Linked DNA regions of Homo sapiens: regions 1 and 2 are each linked to region 3. Evidence: promoter capture Hi-C in 16 types of primary human blood cells and fetal thymus (Javierre and others, 2016). All regions are on one chromosome and are shown on one strand. The core of a region is centred on a gene start or on the middle of the fragment in contact, and the rest is flanking DNA. Distances in the headings are between cores, read along the strand shown. Region 1 overlaps APBB1IP (amyloid beta precursor protein binding family B member 1 interacting protein). Region 2 overlaps APBB1IP (amyloid beta precursor protein binding family B member 1 interacting protein). Region 3 holds the start of MPP7 (MAGUK p55 scaffold protein 7).

Evidence for each region. Contacts are between HindIII fragments. The CHiCAGO score rates a contact against its expected background, and 5 or more counts as called.
Region 1: a contact is called between a fragment that was not itself captured here and the fragment with the promoter of MPP7 in region 3, in 1 of 17 cell types (fetal thymus). The highest score is 5.4, in fetal thymus.
Region 2: a contact is called between a fragment that was not itself captured here and the fragment with the promoter of MPP7 in region 3, in 1 of 17 cell types (non-activated CD4 T cells). The highest score is 6.5, in non-activated CD4 T cells.

The regions. Positions count from the first base shown.
Region 1 is chr10:26,440,683-26,443,382 of GRCh38, forward strand. The region is part of intron 2 of APBB1IP (amyloid beta precursor protein binding family B member 1 interacting protein); the gene reads left to right. Among named protein-coding and RNA genes, the nearest start is that of APBB1IP, 3.7 kb to the left of the region's middle. The HindIII fragment of the contact is 1,660 bases long and covers 509-2,168 here.
Region 2 is chr10:26,480,643-26,483,342 of GRCh38, forward strand. The region is part of intron 2 of APBB1IP (amyloid beta precursor protein binding family B member 1 interacting protein); the gene reads left to right. Among named protein-coding and RNA genes, the nearest start is that of APBB1IP, 44 kb to the left of the region's middle. The HindIII fragment of the contact is 1,273 bases long and covers 668-1,940 here.
Region 3 is chr10:28,301,774-28,304,473 of GRCh38, forward strand. MPP7 (MAGUK p55 scaffold protein 7) reads right to left here and starts at 1,291. Exons shown (of 17, transcript NM_001318170.2): 1 at 1,088-1,291. MPP7-DT (MPP7 divergent transcript) reads left to right here and starts at 1,396. Exons shown (of 2, transcript XR_930772.3): 1 at 1,396-2,656. RefSeq lists a silencer at 838-1,477. The HindIII fragment of the contact is 2,637 bases long and covers 1-2,209 here.

The DNA.
Region 1 (2,700 bases), core at 89-2,588, 1.9 Mb before region 3:
ATAGTATTTATTACATTTTTTGTATTTTTATATCCTAAGAATGTTCACCAGTTATCCACTATTGATTTGCCTTTTTTCACTCATCAATCAAAGTTTTAAATAGTTCCATATTATTATTAGAATGAGCTACTTATAAAGTTCATTGCCATAAATGTCTGTTTGATATGTCACTTTGAATTTTCTTTAAGCCATCTTACTTCCAAAGAGCATTATTATTTTCATTTTCTTCTAATTCTCTTCAATTTTATTTTAATTATTTTTATGCCTAAAACATTTTAGTGAGTCCACAAATCTTATAATAAATTGTCTGCGTTCCATAGCCTATTGGACCACAATCTTTACAATTTTATAGGACCCCATGAGTTTATATTATGGAGACTACGGTGATCTTAGGAATGCTTGCCTCAAAACAGAACAATTTTTATTAACACAACAGGTATCTTCTCAGTATGAAAATGAATGTGTGTGTTTTATGTCACTGCTGTCATCTAAGAGGCAAGTCACTTAAAGCTTAAGCATTTATTATAAATTCATGTACATAATAAATGCCAGATTTTAAAGTGTAAGATTTCTACACTGGTTGCATGGGGATTTTAAAATACATATTACACTTTTAATTATCGTGAGAAACATGACTTTTAGAGAAAACTGCTAGATATCTGGAACAGTAATCATTAGATTTCTCTTGAAAAGAGAGAACTAGCCGCATGAAGGAATGCCATTACACCTATACCCAGTTAAAGAGACTAGATTGTACCTGCAGCTTGGAAGGGCAGACCCTGAGGACAGCTTTTGGGGGACTAGAGGATGTGACCTGCCACCACTGCATCATCATTTCCTAGCCAATTTGTGATCCCAAAATGAGGACTCCAAAGAGGCTGGCTAAATGTGCAGAATATATTAATCTCACTGAGTGGTACCATGGAAATATCACAAGCCCCTGAGATCCCGTTGGCTCCACTGGTCCCAAACCTCAGGCATGAGCAAGCAGAGAGGTGACACCACTCCAAGGCATCACACGTTCTCATTATTCCACATATTCTGGAGCTTGATTCCGTGACTCAGTTTTAAAACATTTCCTGAGCGTTGACCATGAACTTGAATAATTAAGAATCATAAGAGCTATTTTCTTTCTTCTCTGTCAACTCAGTTTTCTCTTTGATCATCACATAGTAATAGCAAATAATAATTATTATAATGTTTACTTATAAATACTACCAGGCCCTGTACTAATTTAGATGTGTCATCTTGTTAATCATCACATCAAGATGAAAGCACAGAGAGGGTAAGAAACTTACGCAGGAAGTAAGAAACAGAGCTGTTGTTTGAACTGGGCCATCTGATGGTGGCACCCATGAAAAAACCTGGGGCCTTTCCACAATGAGTTTATAGTCTAGAAGAGGAGATGTAACTAGATGTAAGAGGAGATGTAGAATTCCATGCGGAACCAGAGTTGAGTGCTGTGGGACTACATATCAGGGTCCCTGGTCTCCCCAACCAGGGTCACGGGAGAAGGTTGAATAGAAGGAAACCAAGCAAAGAACTTATCGTGTTATCATGGGAAGACAAGTTAATATAATCAACTTTGAAGTTATTATCTTTACGTGTGCCTTGAAAAAAGAATCTGCTTTGTTAGCAATCGTGTGTTTTCATTTTTGTGTTTATTTTATTCTAATCCCACATGACAGCCGGCTAGGTTGATTAAATCAACAAGCAAGCAGTGAGTTTAATATTTTTTCTAATTCTGTTGGGGATCTTTTTGATTTAGTTTCATGTTACAGACTCATCAGTGAGATGGTTGTGGGCTGGGATGGGGGATAAAAGCTAAATCACACAGCAACTGTGTTTCCCCAAACCGACTGGAGGGTTTGCATCCAGAGAGCTACATCACATCAAACTGGAGAGAAACAAAAAATGATATTAGAGCAAGTGAATCATGACTAGATTCATTTCTTCCTTCATGTTTTATTATGAAATGTTTCATATCTACAAAAGATGATGTATATATGTAAATAACAACAAATAATAATAAAGCCAACATCTGGGTACCTATCACCCAGCTTAAGAAGTAGAATATTTACCAAGACATTTCCTGGTCTCCTTCCAATAACATTTCCCCATTTCCCAGCTAGAGGTAATCATTATTCTGAATGTGCTAATTTTTAAAAAGCTTTTAGGAAGCATGTACATACATTTGTAAAGGATGGTGTCAAACTGGGGATCAAAGAACACTGGCATGGCAGACTGGAGTCAGGTTCTCCACCGACTCTGGGTGGTCACAAGCAGCTTGTGCTGTTCAGTAAAGACAGCTTACTTTAATTGAATAGCATAAAAACAACATGTATTAGAAATAGTTAATAGTAAGTACCACGGAAATTGTGCTATCTTAGACATTGATAAAGTGACCAAGAATCATCAGTAAAGAACTATGAGTTTTAAGTGGAATAAAGAATATGTGGCCGGGCGTGGTGGCTCACACTGGTAACCCCAGCACTTTGGGAGGCTGAGGCAGGAGGATCACTTGAGGTCAGGAGTTCAAGACCAGCCTGACCAACATGGTGAAACACTGTCTTTACTAAAAATACAAAAAAATTAGCCTGGCATGGTGGTGCATGCCTGTAATCCCAGCCACTCGGGAGGCTGAGGCAGGAGAATCGCTTGAACCCAGGAGGTGGAGGTTGCAGTGAGCCAAAATCATGC
Region 2 (2,700 bases), core at 54-2,553, 1.8 Mb before region 3:
TTTTGGTAAACATGGGATTTCCCCATGTTGCCCAGGCTGGTCTCTAACTCCTGGGCTCAAGTGATCTGCCTACCTCGACCTCCCAAAGTGCTGGGATTACAGGCATGAGCCACCATACACCACAGATTGTTGGTAATCTTGGCACACAGTTTGGTGACATAGTGCAAACAAAAGTCCAGTTGAGATAGATTCATGAGAAAATAAAGACAAGTAGGGGACAGTGAATTGACCTAACTATTCACAGGACTTTTGTTTCTAAAAAGAAATGTTCATGATTTTTATTTATTAATACAACATGATAAACAGAGTATTTTCTATTTGTATCTCTTCAAAAAATTCTAAATTGCATTGTCCCTCTGGTTTTAGGTCACAGTAGGTCCTAAATACAAAAGCAGTTCCCCATTCCTTATATAGACACCCAAAGTAGAAAAAAAAAGGGAACTTAAAATAATCTAGAGACTTGGCACTCTCTTTCCAACCCGTGGGCATCCAAGTGAAACTAGTCTACAACTTGTCTCCCAGAGCTGGAGGCCAGACAGACAGATGGAAGTGGGGATGTTGGGTTCATATGTGCTGACCTCTGTTGTCCTGTGTCAAGTGTTCTTGCACTTGAGTCCTGGGGAACATTTTTGGGTGTTGTTCAGTTCTCTCACTTTTTTCTAACTGAAGCTTGACTTAGCAGAGTGTCCCCACCTTGTCCCACCCACTTATTTCCAAATTGCTTTGATTTTATGCAAAACATAAATTTTTCACTAACTTTATGGTTTGCATAAAATCACAGCAATTTGGAAATAAGCACATTTAAAAATTGTATCTTTTATTTTTTGTTTTGTTATTTTTGTTTTTATTTTTTAATTTTAGAGACAGGGTCACACTTTGTCACTCAGGCTAGAGGGCAGTAGTGCTGTCATAGCTCACTGTAGCCATGAGCTCTTGCGCTCAAAGGATTCTCCCACCTCAGCCTCCTGAGTAGCTGAGACCACAGGTGCGCACCACTATGCCCAGCTAATTTTTTTGGCAGAGGGGATAGAGATGGGGTCTTGCTATATTGCCCAGGCTGGTTTTGAACTCCTGGCCTCAAGTGATCCTCCCACCTCTGCCTCCCAAAGTGCTGAATTTCAGGTGTAACCCACCGCACCTGGCCTAAATCATATTTTTTAAAATGTGGTAGCCCATCTCATTACGTGTGTGTGTGTGTGTGTGTGTGTGTGTGTGTGTGTGTGTGTCTTTACTGCAAAATTCTAAGACTTTTCAAAGCACTCTCTTAGTATTTTTTTAAATTACTGAAATAAATCATTTCATTTAATGATTAGTTTTTTATTTAAAATGTTATTTACAGGTAACTTTTGCCATGACAATATTGCTTACAAAAGGACCCTGTTGTCTTGGCTGTCCCTTCTGTGTGACCCTACCTATGTATATACACATGTCCATATGAATTTTGTTTGTGACTCACTGCATATTAGTCTGAATTGATCATATGACCACAGTCATTGTCCTTTTGATTCAGTAACTACTTGCTAGCCTATTAAGATTTTCACCGATCTCAGGGGTACAGTGCAAAGTTGGTTAAGTTGGCCCAAGAGGTTTCTTCACCTTAGTTCTCTGTTGAGTGAATTATTTGATATAATCCGTAACTTTAGAGATGCTTCTGTTTCCTGTTTTACGCTACACAGAAGCCTCGGCTTCCCCTTTCTCCTCCCTCAAACGTTGCAAGAACCTTTAACCATATGCTGTGTTATTCTGTGAACCACTTCCTCTTGATAAAACGCTTTCATTGCATTTTGAAAAAATACAACACTGAAGGAATCAGGTAAAATTCAATATTCTAAGTTATTTTCAATCACACTGTACACAGGTGACTTCACAGTTTCCACCAGCATTTGCGAGCATCCGAATTCTGTAGTGCGTATTTCATCCTAAGGGCAATCCCATTCATAAGCTTTTTAAAATTTTTTTCTCCTCTTTTGTATCTGTAGTTGTAATATGTCTACTGATTTATTTCCTAGAAAAAAATGTTGCCAGATGGTTTCTAATTAAAAAATAATAAAAATATCAAAGCAAATTGATACTTGGAGAGCCTCAGATTTTTGAAACTTATTTCTCATCAATTCCAGTTCTATTTTAGTTTTGGCAATCTAGTAATAAACTCAAAACACTGTAGGGTAAAAAAACAACAGTCCCTGTAACTCCAGCACTTTGGGAGGCTGAGGCGGGCTGATCACCTGAGGTCAGGTGTTTGAGACCAGCCTGGCCAACATGGTGAAACTCTTTCTCAAGTGAAAAAAAAAAAAAAAAATTAGCTGGTCATGGTGGCCGGTGCCTGTAATCCCAGCTACTTGGGAGGCTGAGGCAGGAGAAACTCTTGAACTGGGAGGTGGAGGTTGCAGTGAGCCGAGATCACACCATTGCACTCCAGCCTGGGCAACAAGAGCAAAACTCCATCTGATAAAAAAAAAAAAAAAAAAAAAAAAGCAGTCAATACTAGGATACAAACATTTTTCTTTAACTGTCTTTAACATAGAAAGATGTACAGTATGCAGATAAATTCATTGAAGAGAAGAAATACAGCTGAGGAAAACCCACACAGAAAAATCTTCCAGAAATTTGTTTAAGCCTCCAATCATGTCTGGGATCAATAAATATTTGATGACTGACTTACTTTGTGTAAACTCGATCGATTTACTTATCTCTGGATGC
Region 3 (2,700 bases), core at 41-2,540:
ATACTGTTTTTATAGAACCAGAGTGAACCTGAGCATAGAAAACTCTCCAAGGGCCATCGCTGTGACATTACCGCTAAAACTCAGTGACCTTCATCAATTCACTTGTAAACAAGCAATATATTGAGCAAGTCAAAGGAAAGGCAGCAACAATTCAAGATACTTCTTTATAAGTAAATCAAATTACGTAATTAATAGCCCAGGATTTACCTGCAAACTATTACTGCCTGACTAGCAGGTGCATCCCCAAAGCCTCGAGTACAGAGACTGTTTTTAGAGAGCCCCCCCTTTTTTAAATGTGAATATTGCTTTTAAAAATTAGAAAAAGAAAAAAATCACAATTCTACTCCCACCCATGGCACAGTGACAGAAACAAGGTCCCACCCCCACAATCCTTTCAAACCTGCACAGGCATTCCTCACGAACACTCCTCCCCCTCATTCCTACCTCACCGCTCCCCACTTCAGCCCAGACAAAGCTGAGTTACTCGGCTGGGTCTACCTGTCACTTAAGAAAAAGCCCCCAAATAGATTCACGCTAAATGCTGCTTTTAATTTTTTAAATAGCAAATAAGTAAATAAATAATGCTATCGTGTAGATTACACGGCCAAACGCCTGTTCTCAGAAAACATGTAATTAACACGACCCAAGTGAAGACGCCTTTCTGGCTTAGGGAAAGAAAAAAAAGAAGCCAGCCAGCTTATCGCTCCCTTTCAGTCGGTTCTTTTCCCCGGGGAGCCGGACTCTGACTCAACTCCGCAGTTTTTCCTCCACCTGTCGGTTCTCCCCGCTCTGGGTCTGCCCCGCCGCCGCCCCCGCCCGGAGTCCCGCGCGTCAACAGGGGTCTCCAGGGGTCCTCAGGGTCCCGCCCGAGGCGGCCCCGCCCCTGCCCCGGCCCCGCCCCCACCTCCTCACAAGGTGCCCGCCGCGGGCTCCCAGGCTGAGGCGCCTAGAGGCCGGCAGGAGGCTCCGGAGGACCGCGGCACCGCTCGGCCCGGTCGCCGGCGCAGGGAGCAGCTTCGGGGGCCGACCCCACCGCCCGAGCCTAGCCCTGGGCTCCGACAGGCGCTCCCCAGAGGCGCCCCATTACCTGCTCTGGGCTGCCGCGGTCCGCGGGCAGGAGGCGCACTCGCTCTGGCCCCTGCAGCCCCGGGCCCGGAGGCAAGGAGGCAGCGACCGCCACCGCCGCAGAGGACAATCGGGAGCCAGCGGGCTCGGCACCGCCGCGGCGGGCGCAGAACGCACGAGCCCAGTGGGAGCCCGGCCCCCGCCTCCAGCCCGGCTAGTAACCAACACGGCCCCCACCCTCGGAGGGGCGGGACCGCGGTTGGAGGGGCGGGGCGGGGCTGCACCGCCCGCGGGTAAGAGGGGCCTGCTGATAGGCTGCGAAGGCGATAGGCGTCTCAGACTTGAAGACGCCTCTCCAGCAGAACTCCCTCATTGGTCGGCAAGAGAAAACAAAGCTGGGCTCTGATTGGTGACAGCTCTGTAGCTCCTCCTCATACCCGCAGTCCCCGCAAGTTCCACCCCTGCCCGCCCGGTTCGCTCGCCCTTGGTTCCCACTCCCAGGTGGCTGCAGACTGGAGTGTGTTTCATGGACGAGCAACCTCCCTGAGGAGAACCCCGGATACGCAGGTTCATTCGCCAGATGCGAGTTTTCTTAAGCCGCTGCGATTCTCTGATTTCAGTATGAACTTGGTGAATAACGTAATCTTTAACTTCCTTTGGATTCAGACAAGTCTCCTAGGTTTAAAAATGCTGCATAAGATTGAGAGGGATATTGTTATGCACGAAAAAAGACATAAGGTGTTTTCACCTTTGGCGACACTGTAGGTGACTTTTTCTTATTACCTTTTTGTGTTCCATATTGAACATGTACTACATGATTAGAAAAAAAAATTCTTAAATAGAAAAATGAGTAGGGTGCGGAGAATGGTAAAGACAAACTTTAAGGAAATCCAGAGAACTGATTCTTTCACAATAGAAGAAAATACAGTAAACATGCTTAATATCTGAGGGCTACCCCGAAAAAACATGAACTGGTATCAGCGCCCTTCAGCTCTCTTAAAGAACTTTACATATGTGACCGAGGTGCCCCCATACTCCTTCCTATCATGTAACCAACACATAATGTGGACAGCACTACACTGCAAACAGAATTACAGGAAGACTCTTATAGGAAGAATTAGAATCCAAAGTACACAATCAATAAAGCTTTAGAAAAAGGGGTAGTAAAAAGCAGAAGACAAAAAAAAATCAGGTAATATAAATTGGAAAGCTCAGCTGATGGAGGGAATCATCAGAAAAAAAATAATGTGACAACACTTCAAGATGTGATAGAGACTTTGAATGGAAAGCTGAAGGGAGAGGAAGGGGATTGAGATAAGGATCAATGACCTGCAGTTAATATGAGCTCTCAGAACACATCCCCCAGAACTGGTGTCAGCCTAGAAGGCAAGAAGCATTTCTCACCTAGGGACCACTCTCACTTAACTCTCTCTAGCTGCCTTAACATTCTGTTTGTTCTTGTCATTCTCGCAAAGTTCTAAAACAGGCTATTTGAAATTAAGCACTTCCCCCCAGCAACTCCGTGAATTACGTAATAGTGAAAAATGGAGATAGACAAAAAGCAAACCTGAGGAAGGAAAGGAATGTTAAGGTAAACATAAACTTAAAGAGAAGTAAGGGCAAAACACCTGATAG